Regions from separate parts of the Homo sapiens genome. Here all the other regions are linked to region 3. Evidence: promoter capture Hi-C in 16 types of primary human blood cells and fetal thymus (Javierre and others, 2016). All regions are on one chromosome and are shown on one strand. Each heading gives the region's core, a stretch centred on a gene start or on the middle of the fragment in contact. The rest is flanking DNA. Distances are from core to core; before and after follow the strand shown.

Evidence for each region. The method cuts DNA at HindIII sites, captures the fragments that hold promoters and counts their contacts. A CHiCAGO score of 5 or more calls a contact.
Region 1: a contact is called between a fragment that was not itself captured here and the fragment with the promoter of LINC02724 in region 3, in 6 of 17 cell types (M0 macrophages, M1 macrophages, megakaryocytes and 3 more). The highest score is 8.3, in M0 macrophages.
Region 2: a contact is called between a fragment that was not itself captured here and the fragment with the promoter of LINC02724 in region 3, in 6 of 17 cell types (megakaryocytes, endothelial precursors, M2 macrophages and 3 more). The highest score is 13.5, in megakaryocytes.
Region 4: a fragment that was not itself captured here is called in contact with the fragment with the promoter of LINC02724 in region 3 in 3 of 17 cell types (megakaryocytes, M1 macrophages and endothelial precursors); the score reaches 5.4 in megakaryocytes.

The regions. Positions count from the first base shown.
Region 1 is chr11:64,697,893-64,700,592 of GRCh38, forward strand. All of the region lies in intron 2 of NRXN2 (neurexin 2), which reads right to left. Among named protein-coding and RNA genes, the nearest start is that of NRXN2, 24 kb to the right of the region's middle. The HindIII fragment of the contact is 3,809 bases long and covers 1-2,700 here.
Region 2 is chr11:64,671,216-64,673,915 of GRCh38, forward strand. The region is part of intron 7 of NRXN2 (neurexin 2); the gene reads right to left. Among named protein-coding and RNA genes, the nearest start is that of NRXN2-AS1, 29 kb to the left of the region's middle. The HindIII fragment of the contact is 4,540 bases long and covers 1-2,700 here.
Region 3 is chr11:64,447,802-64,450,501 of GRCh38, forward strand. LINC02724 (long intergenic non-protein coding RNA 2724) reads left to right here and starts at 1,256. Exons shown (of 2, transcript NR_073177.1): 1 at 1,256-1,851; 2 at 2,096-2,700. RefSeq lists an enhancer at 1,595-1,844, a cis regulatory region at 1,734-2,003 and a silencer at 1,781-1,976. The HindIII fragment of the contact is 9,068 bases long and covers 1-1,403 here.
Region 4 is chr11:64,627,552-64,630,251 of GRCh38, forward strand. All of the region lies in intron 19 of NRXN2 (neurexin 2), which reads right to left. Among named protein-coding and RNA genes, the nearest start is that of NRXN2-AS1, 15 kb to the right of the region's middle. The HindIII fragment of the contact is 2,694 bases long and covers 12-2,700 here.

The DNA.
Region 1 (2,700 bases), core at 177-2,676, 250 kb after region 3:
AGTCCAAGCCCACCCAGGCCCTGACATGAGTCACCCAATGTGGAAGGCCCAAATCTCAAGAAACAGCTATGTTGGGGATGAGGCAGACACAGAGCTGCTCCCTGAGTCAGAACCTCACACACAGTCAGCCAGTACCCATCACACCCAACCCTCAAGTAACATTTCAGGAAACCGAGGCCCAGGACAGGGAAGTAACCACTCAAGGTCACACAGAGAATCTGAGGCAGGGCCAGGAGTGGCAGTCAGGCTTCTCAACTTCCCCAGAGAGGCTCCTACCCTGCATTCCATTGCATCTCACAGACAGATGGGGACACACTCACACCACTAATTGTCTCACAGGGTTCACTAGAGACACACTCATGCTCAGTGACACACTGACACACATAGGCACTTAGCAATCCAGTGACACACACTGTCTCACACAATTCACATATAAAGCCCCTGCACACAGGACCCAACCACCTACGGCCCCTGACCCTCCCAGGGGTGAAAAGACATCAAGACACAGAGAGAACAAACATGATTCTGCCACACAGCACTGTGTGACTTTCATCCTATTCACTTAACCTCTCTGAGTCCCTACTGCCTCTTCTGCAAAATGAGAGGGGTGGACTGGATAGTTTCTGAGGCCTCTTCTGACTCTGATTCTGATTCTAGGACAAATGTCTTCTTAACATCTGGATGAGGCCAAGGGCCCCCAGGCTGGATGGCCATGCCAGTGGGGGAAGAGAGTCCAAATTCAGTGGGCCACACTGGGCCCAGACCTAGACCATGCCACATCCTTTGGATAGGCAGACCTCACCTATTAGGGCCCTGCCTGGATCTGGCCTTGGAGCTCACCAAATGGGTCAAGGGAGAAGATGGAACAACGAGAAGATGGAGACAATTCCTTCAACTAAGCTACAACTCCTCAAGCAGGTTGGGCTCTGATCTTCTTTGTAAGAGGATGGAGGTGCCCCCAGCTCCAAACATTTGCCATGTGCCCACCTCCTGGGAGCCTTTAGATGAAGCAATAGGCAGGAGGGGGAAAACAGCACAATCTACAAACACACAAACCCAGTGGGGAAACACATACTTGCATATGCAGGCCCCAGGATACACACTTATGTACACACAGCTATCCAGTTCACACTCACGCATGCACACATTATCTCCTCCTACCTCCAACCCCATTTGGTGATATCTGTTCATTCGCTCATAGAGAGGTAGCTATACTCTGAAAACAAACATAGTCATTTGTCATACCTTATACCACTCCCATAATCCACGCACATACACAGGCTGAATGCAAGCACCAATACCTACACAGTAATCTACTACATAACACTAGACACACACACCACCACCCCACAGTGACTCCAGTGGCTAAAGCCATACAGCCAGCGATGAACACAGCTCTTTATCTCCCATTTCCTAAACCTACATACACAGTCTTTCCATGTCAACATGTGTTACAAACACACTCCTCTACAACACAGAGCTGCTTCTACCTGACAGCTGCATCACCTAAAAGATACATGTCTAATAGTTTTCTTTTTTTTTTTTTTTTTTTTTTGAGATGGAGTCTTGCTCTTGTTGCCCAGGCTGGAGTGAAATGGTGCGATCTCAGCTCACCGCAACCTCCACCTCCCGGGTTCAAGTGATTCTCCTGCCTCAGCCTCCGGCATGCGCTACCACACCCGGCTACTTTTTGTATTTTCAGTAGAGATGGGGTTTCTCCATGTTAGTCAGGCTAGTCTCGAACTCCCAACCTCAGGTGATCTGCCCGCCTCGGCCTCCCAAAGTGCTGGGATTACAGGCATGAGCCACAGTGCCCAGCAATAGTTTTCTTAAGTAAACTGAATCACATTTCATTTATGGGGGGAGCTGGCTAATAAAGGGGCCCTCAGGAAACCCTTTGGCTCTCGTGAAGACTGCTGTGCCAGGATTTCTTTGGTCCCAGTATGCTAAGACCCTGGTCAGTCAGCACAATTGTCTCACCAGCACCTGTGCAAATAAGGAGGCATGGTGATTTCTAGATAATCCAACATGGTAGGTATTTCAAAAAGTATTTCCACCTGCCAGAAATGTACGTCATGCTATGCTCAGGAAGGTGAAACAACCAGGCTTGGTTTGTTTCTGGCTTTTGAGAGACAGCACCTAGAAACTCACATATCTCTCTTCCTCTGCTGCTCTTTGCTTTCTGCTGATTCACCTATGCCCCTCACCTGCCACCTCAGTCCCCTTCAGGGTTGGCCCCTGCCCTCCACATTCCTCTTACTTCTCCTCGCTCTCCTCAGTGATGGCTCATTTTCGTGCTCAGAGACTCCCAAACCATGGGTAGTCCCGGCCTCCTCCCTGAGTACCAGTCCTGTATCACCATGTGTCCACCCAGCAGTGCAATTGCTCGTCCAACTCTCTGACATCTAAACTCCACCACTGAAGCCATTCTCGACACCTCCACTCCTACAACCAAGTGCTTATTCCCCTGTGCTTAGCAAAGCCCCTGCTTTCAACCAGTGCTGCCTGAGCTCCCACTACATGCCCCACACTGCCCTCATAGGTTCCAGAGATTCCATTAGTTAGCCATGTGCTGGGCACCGTACTGACCCTCACATGCAATATCACACATCAGCCTCACTGCAACACAGAGCTCGGTGTTATCTATCGACTCTGTACAGAGAAGAAAACACACCCAGGAGCACAGAATCACTTTTGCCC
Region 2 (2,700 bases), core at 61-2,560, 220 kb after region 3:
AGTGCCCTGAGGAAAGGGATCAGCCAGAGGTGGGGAGTAGAGGGAGATAGTGGGGACGGGTTCTGGGTGGAAAGGAAGCCAAGGGTAGAGGGAATGGAGGAAGGTCTCTGGGGAAGGCAAGGAGGGAGATGACTTAGATTAGTAAAACCCGACTGTTCCCTCAGACGAATCAAAGTCCAGACACAAAAATGGCAGGTTCGTTAGTAAAAGCAGGAAACAGGGGAATAATTCCCCCGGTCCCCCTCCACCCCAGGGGTTCATGATGCCCCTGCCCCCCAACCTCCCCCCCACGCATCTTCTGGAAGGGGTGGGGCCGGTGGGGGAGGAGGGAAGGGAGGGGGCCGTGCGACACAGAACAGCCACTGCAGCTGGACACATGCAGGTTAGAGGAGCAGAGTGAGGGCTAGACCCAGCAGGACAGGCCAGAGAAAGGCAGCCAGGTAAGAAGGCGTGCGGGGCAGGGGCACTGGGAGGAGCAGAGATGGAGGCAACAGAGCTGTGGGGTGCAGGTAGGGAGAGCTTCCTTCCGATGATGGGGGGAAAGAGAGAGGAGTGACCACTAGGACAGAGACACTTATGGGTTGAAAAATAAAGAGAAAAGACATTTGACTCTACCTTCCTCAACAGCAGGCGACCCAACACTCATTCCACCACCCATTCGCCACCGATCACCAACCCCGAGACACACCTGCGTACATACCACATCCTACCCAGGGCAGTGGGACCTTCCAGCTCTCTCCTTCCAAACAGCATCACTGAGACACAGCAGAGTGTCTGCACCCAACCCATGCCAACCCACTCAACACAGACAAGCAGGCCGAGTGGGTACTGAGCTGGCCAAGGGGAATGAGCCAGAGCTTCTGCCCTGGAAGAGTTGTGTCCAGCCAGAGAAGGGAGAGGGTGCAGAGGCAGCAGGAGCCCACTGCCCAGCCCCCACTGTACTCCCCAGGAGCAGAGAGGCTGGCTGGAGGTGGACACAAGGGGCAGCCTGTGACTTGGGTGGGCTCTCAGCCCTCCCTGCTGACCCCACCTCTCTTTCTGCTCCATGCACCTCCCCTGTGGCAGGCTGTGCAGGATATGAAACTAAGTCCTGGCCATAAATAACTCCACATTGGTGGGCACTCCATGTCCACATGCCTTAGGAAGAAAGGCTGAGGAAGAGGGGAAGTATCCTTCTGCCATCTTCTGGAGCCTTTATCAGTTGCCTGTGATGATCACAGGGTCACTAACCTCCTTGGGAGGGGGACTTAATCTGGGGAGAACAAGACGGAGGGCGGGTATTTTTAACTTGTGGGCAAGCTGGCTGAGCTTGGGAGATTCCAAGCCCCTTGATATTGTGTGCAAAACTGCCTCCGTGGGTTTTTTTCCTGTGAGAGTCCATTGCTGTCATCAAATTCTCAAAGGTATCCATGAGCCAAAGGTGGTTAAGAGCAACTAGTCTAGGGGAAAGGTCCTGGCATCCCCTTAGGATTGAGTGGGTGGAAATAAGGGACAAAGACAAAGAGGAAGAAAGGGTCTCCAGGCTGAGTAAGGTACTGCAAGTCCTGCTAAGGGTTTGGGTTAGCTACCTGTTCAATGAGAGGGCAGAAGCTAACCAGAGACTCGGGTTGGAAAGACACACCATGAAGATGGACTGAACCAGCAGGCACAGCCCTGTCATGAATCCTGAGGTCTGGATTTGATAGTTTGGGAATAGAGAGGAAAGAGGTCAGAAATCCTGGGCTCTCATTCAGCCTTTATCCTTTTCCAGAACAATCCCATTTTACCTCTGACTCTCATCTGTGACAGGAGTTTAACAACTGTCGCTCCCATTTCTTCCAGGCTTACTCTGAGCACCAAATGAGAAAACTGAAGTGAAACTCCTCGATATCTGGCTATCTGACCCTAGGCAAGGTGCTTTCTCTGGGCTTCAGCTTTCCCCATCTGTTAACTGGAAACAATCTCTGCCTGCTACTTGCAGTCCAGGCATTCAAGTTTAAATGATATTCAAAAGGGGAAAGCTATTCAAAGAGTCCCAGTGTGTGTACAAAGAACTATCATTATTTGTACAAGCAAACTCCATCAGCCTGATCACACCTAATCCGAACTTCTCAACCTTCTCAAGGTTGGCCTTTTTGCTTTATATCCACCCTCTCCCCCAAGAAGAAGTGCTCAAACAACATGAAAATAGTCCATATAAATGAGTTAGTAAAAATAAATTGGAAACTAACCAAAACCTGTCTGGGGGATGCCTTGGGAATCAGAACACATTGAACCCTGTTACAAGGCCTCTGACTCTGGTCTTGGCTGAAAGAGCTGATTCCTAGTACAGATTTATGAAGGTCTATGAGGCCACCAAAAGGCAACCAGGTCTGTTTATCAGTCAGTATTGCTCATGCAGGAAAGTGCAGACTTTAGAGACTCAGAATTTAGCAGATACTTTCCTTTCCAGGACTGAAACAAGACAGTATTGTTTACTTTTTTTTGTTTTGTTTGTGTGTGTGTGTGTTTGTTTTAGAGATAGGGTGTTTGTTTGTTTGTTTGTTTTAGAGATGGTGCCTTGCTGGGGCACGATGGCTCATGCCTGTAATCCTAACACTTTGGGAAGCCAAGGTGGGTGGAATGCCTGAGCTCAGCAGTTCGAGACCAGCCTGGCAACACGGTGAAACCCTGTCTCTACTAAAATACAAAAAATTAGCCAGGAGTGGTGGCATGCACCTG
Region 3 (2,700 bases), core at 6-2,505:
CCTCCTTTCCCCCTCCCCTTCCTGGCCTCTAGTAAGCAGGTTGCTGTTGCAAATTACGTATTGAAGAAACTGGCGCTTTGTCCTATGGTTGCCTGCAGTCTGGATTTTGCTGGTCACGTCCCCTTAGCTTTGTTGAGCAGGCTCCCCAGTCCCTGTATTTCTTGTAATTTGATAGTTGGCAAACTTTTTCCATAAAGAGCCAGCGAGTAAATATTTTGGGCTTTGTGGGCTATAACAGTCTCTGTGGCAATTCCTCAACTCTGCTGTCACAGCGAGGCCGCAGCCAGAGACAACATGTAAACAGCGGAGCAGGGCTCCGTTCCCACAGCGCGGGATCTGGGTCCCAGTTTGCACAGCCCTGAGTCGAGGGTGGATCCAATCCAGGTCTGATACAGCATTTCAATGGTGATGCCGCAGCCTTCCACACTGAGGCACTTAACACCCCATTGTTCCCAATTGCATTTTAACTGAAAAAATACAAAAAGAGATCAAAACTGAAAGTGCAGTTTCCTCATGGTCCCACCACATTTTGGAGAAGTGTATAAATGGAGAAGTGAAAGCTCCATCTTCTGCCCCTTCCCCATGAGAGAGCCTCTATTCACAGCCAGGTCAGTTTCTTCCAGACTGTTAACATCCGTGTGAGTGCACATGTCTACACTGCGTGGAGCCTGCCTGCTTCCTGCCCCGCAGGCGTGTCTGCTGTGGGAAGGCTGGAGTTCTGACCTTCCCCCTCCCCCTCTGGGTGACAGGTGGCTCAGTTCTCTTCCCTGCCACGTTCAAGACCAGGTTGGGGGAGGGGGTGAATGTCACTATTCCCCTGACTGCCACTGTGGAGAGGGGAGACCCTCGCCCCTTTTCTGAATTTTTCCTTACCCCTTTCCTTGGAATAAAGCAAACACCAGACCCAAATGGATTTTAAGTGACACTTTCCCAAGAGTCTGGAGAGGGGACAGAGACTGGACGTGGTGTGTCCTGCCTGAGCCGAGTCATCTGGTTACGAGGGCAGGGGCAGGCTGGGGTGGGGCTCATGCGCCCCGGAAGCACCCTGGCTCCTCGCTCTCCCATGCCTCTCCCTTTATGTCCTCTGCTGTCCAGCGCCTGGGCCCCGGCCCTCCCTGGGACACCATCCTGCCCTGCCCGAGTCGTGGCTCTCCAGTCTCTTTCGGGGACTCGCCCCTGGCACCCACTAGATGGCGCTCCCGGCCACTCAGCTCCCCCTGCCTCGCTTGGGGTGGTGCTGGACGTCGGGAGCGCTGGCCTCTGCTCTGCTGATTTGCAGGTGGGAGTGCAGGGTGAGCCCGGCGCAGGGGATAGGAGGTGGGGGAGTCGAGAGCTGGAGTCAGGCGCCGCTCACGCTGGGATGACGGAGTGTTAACCTCAGACTCTGGGTCCCTTTGGGCCGAAGCTTTAAGAAAACAGGGGCAGCGAGCCCGGCGTCCCAAGGAGCCTTGCCAAACTGGGCATGGAGAACGGGCCTCCTGGATGGCCACCCGCCCAGCTGCCAAAGAGGCCGGAGAGCTGGAGCCGGGACTTGGAGGATCTTCTTCAGAGAGGCAGGAGGGCGGTCCGAACGTGCCCCCACCCCTGACCTCAAGCCCATGTGGAGAGGGCCAACAGAGCCTCTTGGAGAGCTGGATTTGCGTCCTCTGCAGCTTGGGGGACACGTCGTTGATGGTGACTGACACGCCCCAGAGATAGTGACATGATGATTAAGAGTGACAGCCTGAGGGAGCTGAGCGCAGCATGGCTGGTCTGGCAGCTGCTGTCGGTGTCGCGACCCCACCCCACTTCCCCGGCTCCCTGCCTCCTTCGCTGGAGAAGCATCCTCAGCCAATGGAGCCACAATACCTGGTACGTTCAGGCGACGCCCACAGCCCACGGCTAACTGTACAAAAGACTGTTCCCTCGCCTGCCTCTAGATGGCGATACCTCTGCCCCAGGGCCCCCTGCATATCTGCCAGAGCTGTATTTACCCTGGGACCACGCCTTTACCGAGTCCTTTCTCCTTCCCCGCCCCTCTGCCCTCACATCCTGGGCGGCTTGTCCCAGGATGAGCCCTCCCCTAGTAAATCCCTGTCTTGGGCTCTGTTTTCAGACAGCTGAAGGCAGGGAACAGCAGGAGGGGCCCCAGGAAGCTGGCCCCAAGGACGGGATGCTGCAGGAGGATGCCCCGCTGGCCCCTGGTGACTGGAGCCCGTTGCGGAGGCCCCTGGCACGAGGTGGCAGAGCAGCTGCTCAGGCCTCCGCCTGTGGTCACCTGGGACAGGACTCAGGTGGACGGGGATGCCCGGCTCGTTTAATATCACTGATGTTGAGAGACAGATGGGAAAATAGCCGTGAGAAGGACGTGGAGTGGGGAGGCTGTCACTGAATACTACTGACACTTAGAAGAGGGAAAATGACAAGTTCAGGGCCACGCATCACCAATTTAAAGCAAAGTCAGGATTCCTTGGCAGAATTTAACGAAATGCTTCTCTTCTATAGCCAGGGGTCAGAGGGCAGAAGACAAGGTGCAGGACTCCAGAGAAGGCCAAATTTCCAGCCCAGGGAAGTCCCTTCTCCAAAGTCAGGGCCCCAAAGGGAAGGGTGGGGTCCCTGATATCTGAGATGGACTATCTGAGGAGACACTCTTGAGACATTGAACCCCCAGATTCTCCTGTACCTCCTGGCCTGCAGAAGTGACCCATTGCCTCTGTTGGA
Region 4 (2,700 bases), core at 109-2,608, 180 kb after region 3:
TCTCTTCTGCAAGCTTGGCTGCCCATCTGGATACCCACCTGTTCCTCTCTGCGCTCACCAATCTCCAGCCCCTGGAGACTGGGAAAGGGAATGTGTGTGAATGTGTGTGTGTGCACAGACGCCTATGTGGAAAGAGGTTTGTCAGTGCACCTGAGAGGATCTGTACACCTCTGTGAGCTGTGGGTGATCCTGGTCTGCAGCAGTGGAAAGAGAACTGATTTCCTTTGAGAATCTGGCCACTCCTCCCATTTAAGCCACTGACATACTATTCAGTGCACGCTGGTGGGGCCAGGAGGCTTTTCCTCTCATCTCTCACTGCACAGCTGTGCTCACCTGCCCAGAGACCCGGGCCTGGGCCTGCCTATGTACACCTCCCATGAAGGTACACACGATGTGTTCATGTGGGTATGGATGGTGCCTCCTTGGGTGCTTATGAGGCAAGGAGATTCTGCTTTCCCTATAGATTCAGGATATTTGTGTTTAAATTAAAAACAGATCATTCAATCCTGTGTGTGTGTCTCCAAGAGGAAGAGAAAAATGTACATCTGCCTGGAGGGAGGCTGAGTATACAAAAATTCTAATAAAAGTCCTATTTATTGAGCACCTTTGCTATGCCATGCCATTCTAGTGTTTAATGACATTCTCACAGTATTGCTATGAGGTAGGTATCATCACCTTTCCGAAGTGGAAACTGAGATTCAGAGAGGCTAGATGACTTGTCCAAGGTTACACGCTTGTCAGTGGGAGATCCAGGATTAAAACCCAGGTTCTTCTGACTCAGAATCCATGGGCTGTGTCTCTGTGCTCCCAAAGAATCAGAGGGTCCCCCCCCACTCTGGGCCCATGCATACTGATGGTCTGACCTGCTGGTATTGCTCAGGATCTGCCCTCAGTATATACAGGCAACCACCAGACCCTCATGTTACTCCCCTTTACAGGCGGGGGCACCCAGCAGCCTTTCCTCACCCCTAGTCAGGGGTCCCTGAGGAGAGGAGAGCAGGAATAATTCTTCCACCCTGACTGCTGGCCTCCTGGGCCCCAAGGGGAGAAGCTCTAGATCCAAGTCCTGGCTTGACATGGTGAGGCCTTCATGCTTCCAAGCCCAGCCCTGTCCAGCACAGGCCAATGTCATCACTGCTACAAAGGTTGCCCTAGTATGTGTGCATCGGAGAATGAGAGAAGTCTGCTGCCCACAGGAATCATGCCTACACAGCCAGAGCTGTCAGTGTTGGCTTGTTGGGGGGCGTGGGGGATAGGTGGAATTTAGTGTAGGAGGGTTGGTGTGTGTTGAGTGTCCCTACATGTACCCAGGGACTTGATGTAGGCTGGCATCCCTCTGCAGAGCTGTTTTTTCATGTGTCTGTCTGACCATACAAATGTCTGCAGTTGTCCATATGTCTAAGGTTGACCTGTGTGTACATGAACCTCTGTATGTATTAGGGGGCCACGCAGGCCTCTTTATCTCCAGGGACTTTCCAGAAATGTCTGGGTACAAGCCTGCGTAATTGGTGTCATAAGCCTGTACTGGCATCTTTACTCCAGCATAGGTGAGCCCATGAAAGTTTACACATTGGCCTTTTGCCCCTGCCCCTCGCAGTCAGCATGGGGCAGCTTCTCTGCCTCAGCCTGGCTATCTCTCCGCCTGGGAGAGTGATGGAGGTCGCAGATGCTCACTCTGCTTCTCAGTCAGGCCCTGTGTGTGACTGCAATGTCGCTCAGACTGTATCTCACCATCTCTGTGTTTCTGCAGTTCTCCCTGCAGCGTTCCTGTTTCCCCTCCCTCTTTATCTCCCATGCTGGGGCTCTCCTCCGTTCCCTCCCAAGGCTCTGTCCACCTCTTCTCTCCCTGGGCCTGCATGTCAGCATCTCCATCTACCTCTCCACATCTCTCCTCATCTTTGCATATAGTTCAGTGCTATTTCCATATCTTTCCATTGCTTCCCCTCTGGTTTCCTCTCATTCTAAGGCTCTGTCTCTGCCTCCCTCAATATCTTTCAGAGTCTCTGCCTCCTCATTTCTTCCATGTCCTCATCTCCATCCCTCTCCTGTGCTCCTCAGACCTTGGTTTGTCCTTGGCCGCCACAGCTGTCACCCTGTTGAACTTGGTCTGTCTGCATTCTCAAGGCTCCCTGCAAGCAGGGACTGAGTGCCCCGGACCTAGCACAAGCCCTGATATCTAAGTAGGTTGTCAACAAAGGTTATTGAACGCACATGACCCTGTGTTTCATTTTTGTTGTCACTTGTCTCTTCCTCCCTTTCACCATGTCCCTCACCGCCTTGGACACTGGGGGTCCTTTTCTCTGAGTCTCCGTGGCTACTCCTCTTCCTTCGTTAGATCTCCTAATATGGATCTCTGACTTGCTCTTTATAAGGACCTCGGTTCTTTCCTTGGCTCTGCCCGTGGTAACAGCCCTGTCTCCTTGCCAAGACACGTTTTATATTACTTCTGGATTTTCTCTCCTGTTTCTGCATCTGTCTCCCTCATTTCTGAACTCAACCTTTCCGCAATCGCATCAGATTCTCCTCACCTCTACCCTCCCTCCACTTCTCCCCCCACCCCCAAACTGGACCCTGGCCTTGCAACCTTCCCAGCTCAGCCCTGCACCCTCCCCCATAGGGGGCGCATTCGCACCACCACGGTCTCGCCCCGCCGCCACAAATCCCGACTTTTCCTAGCCACGCCCCTGCCCTAGTCCCGCC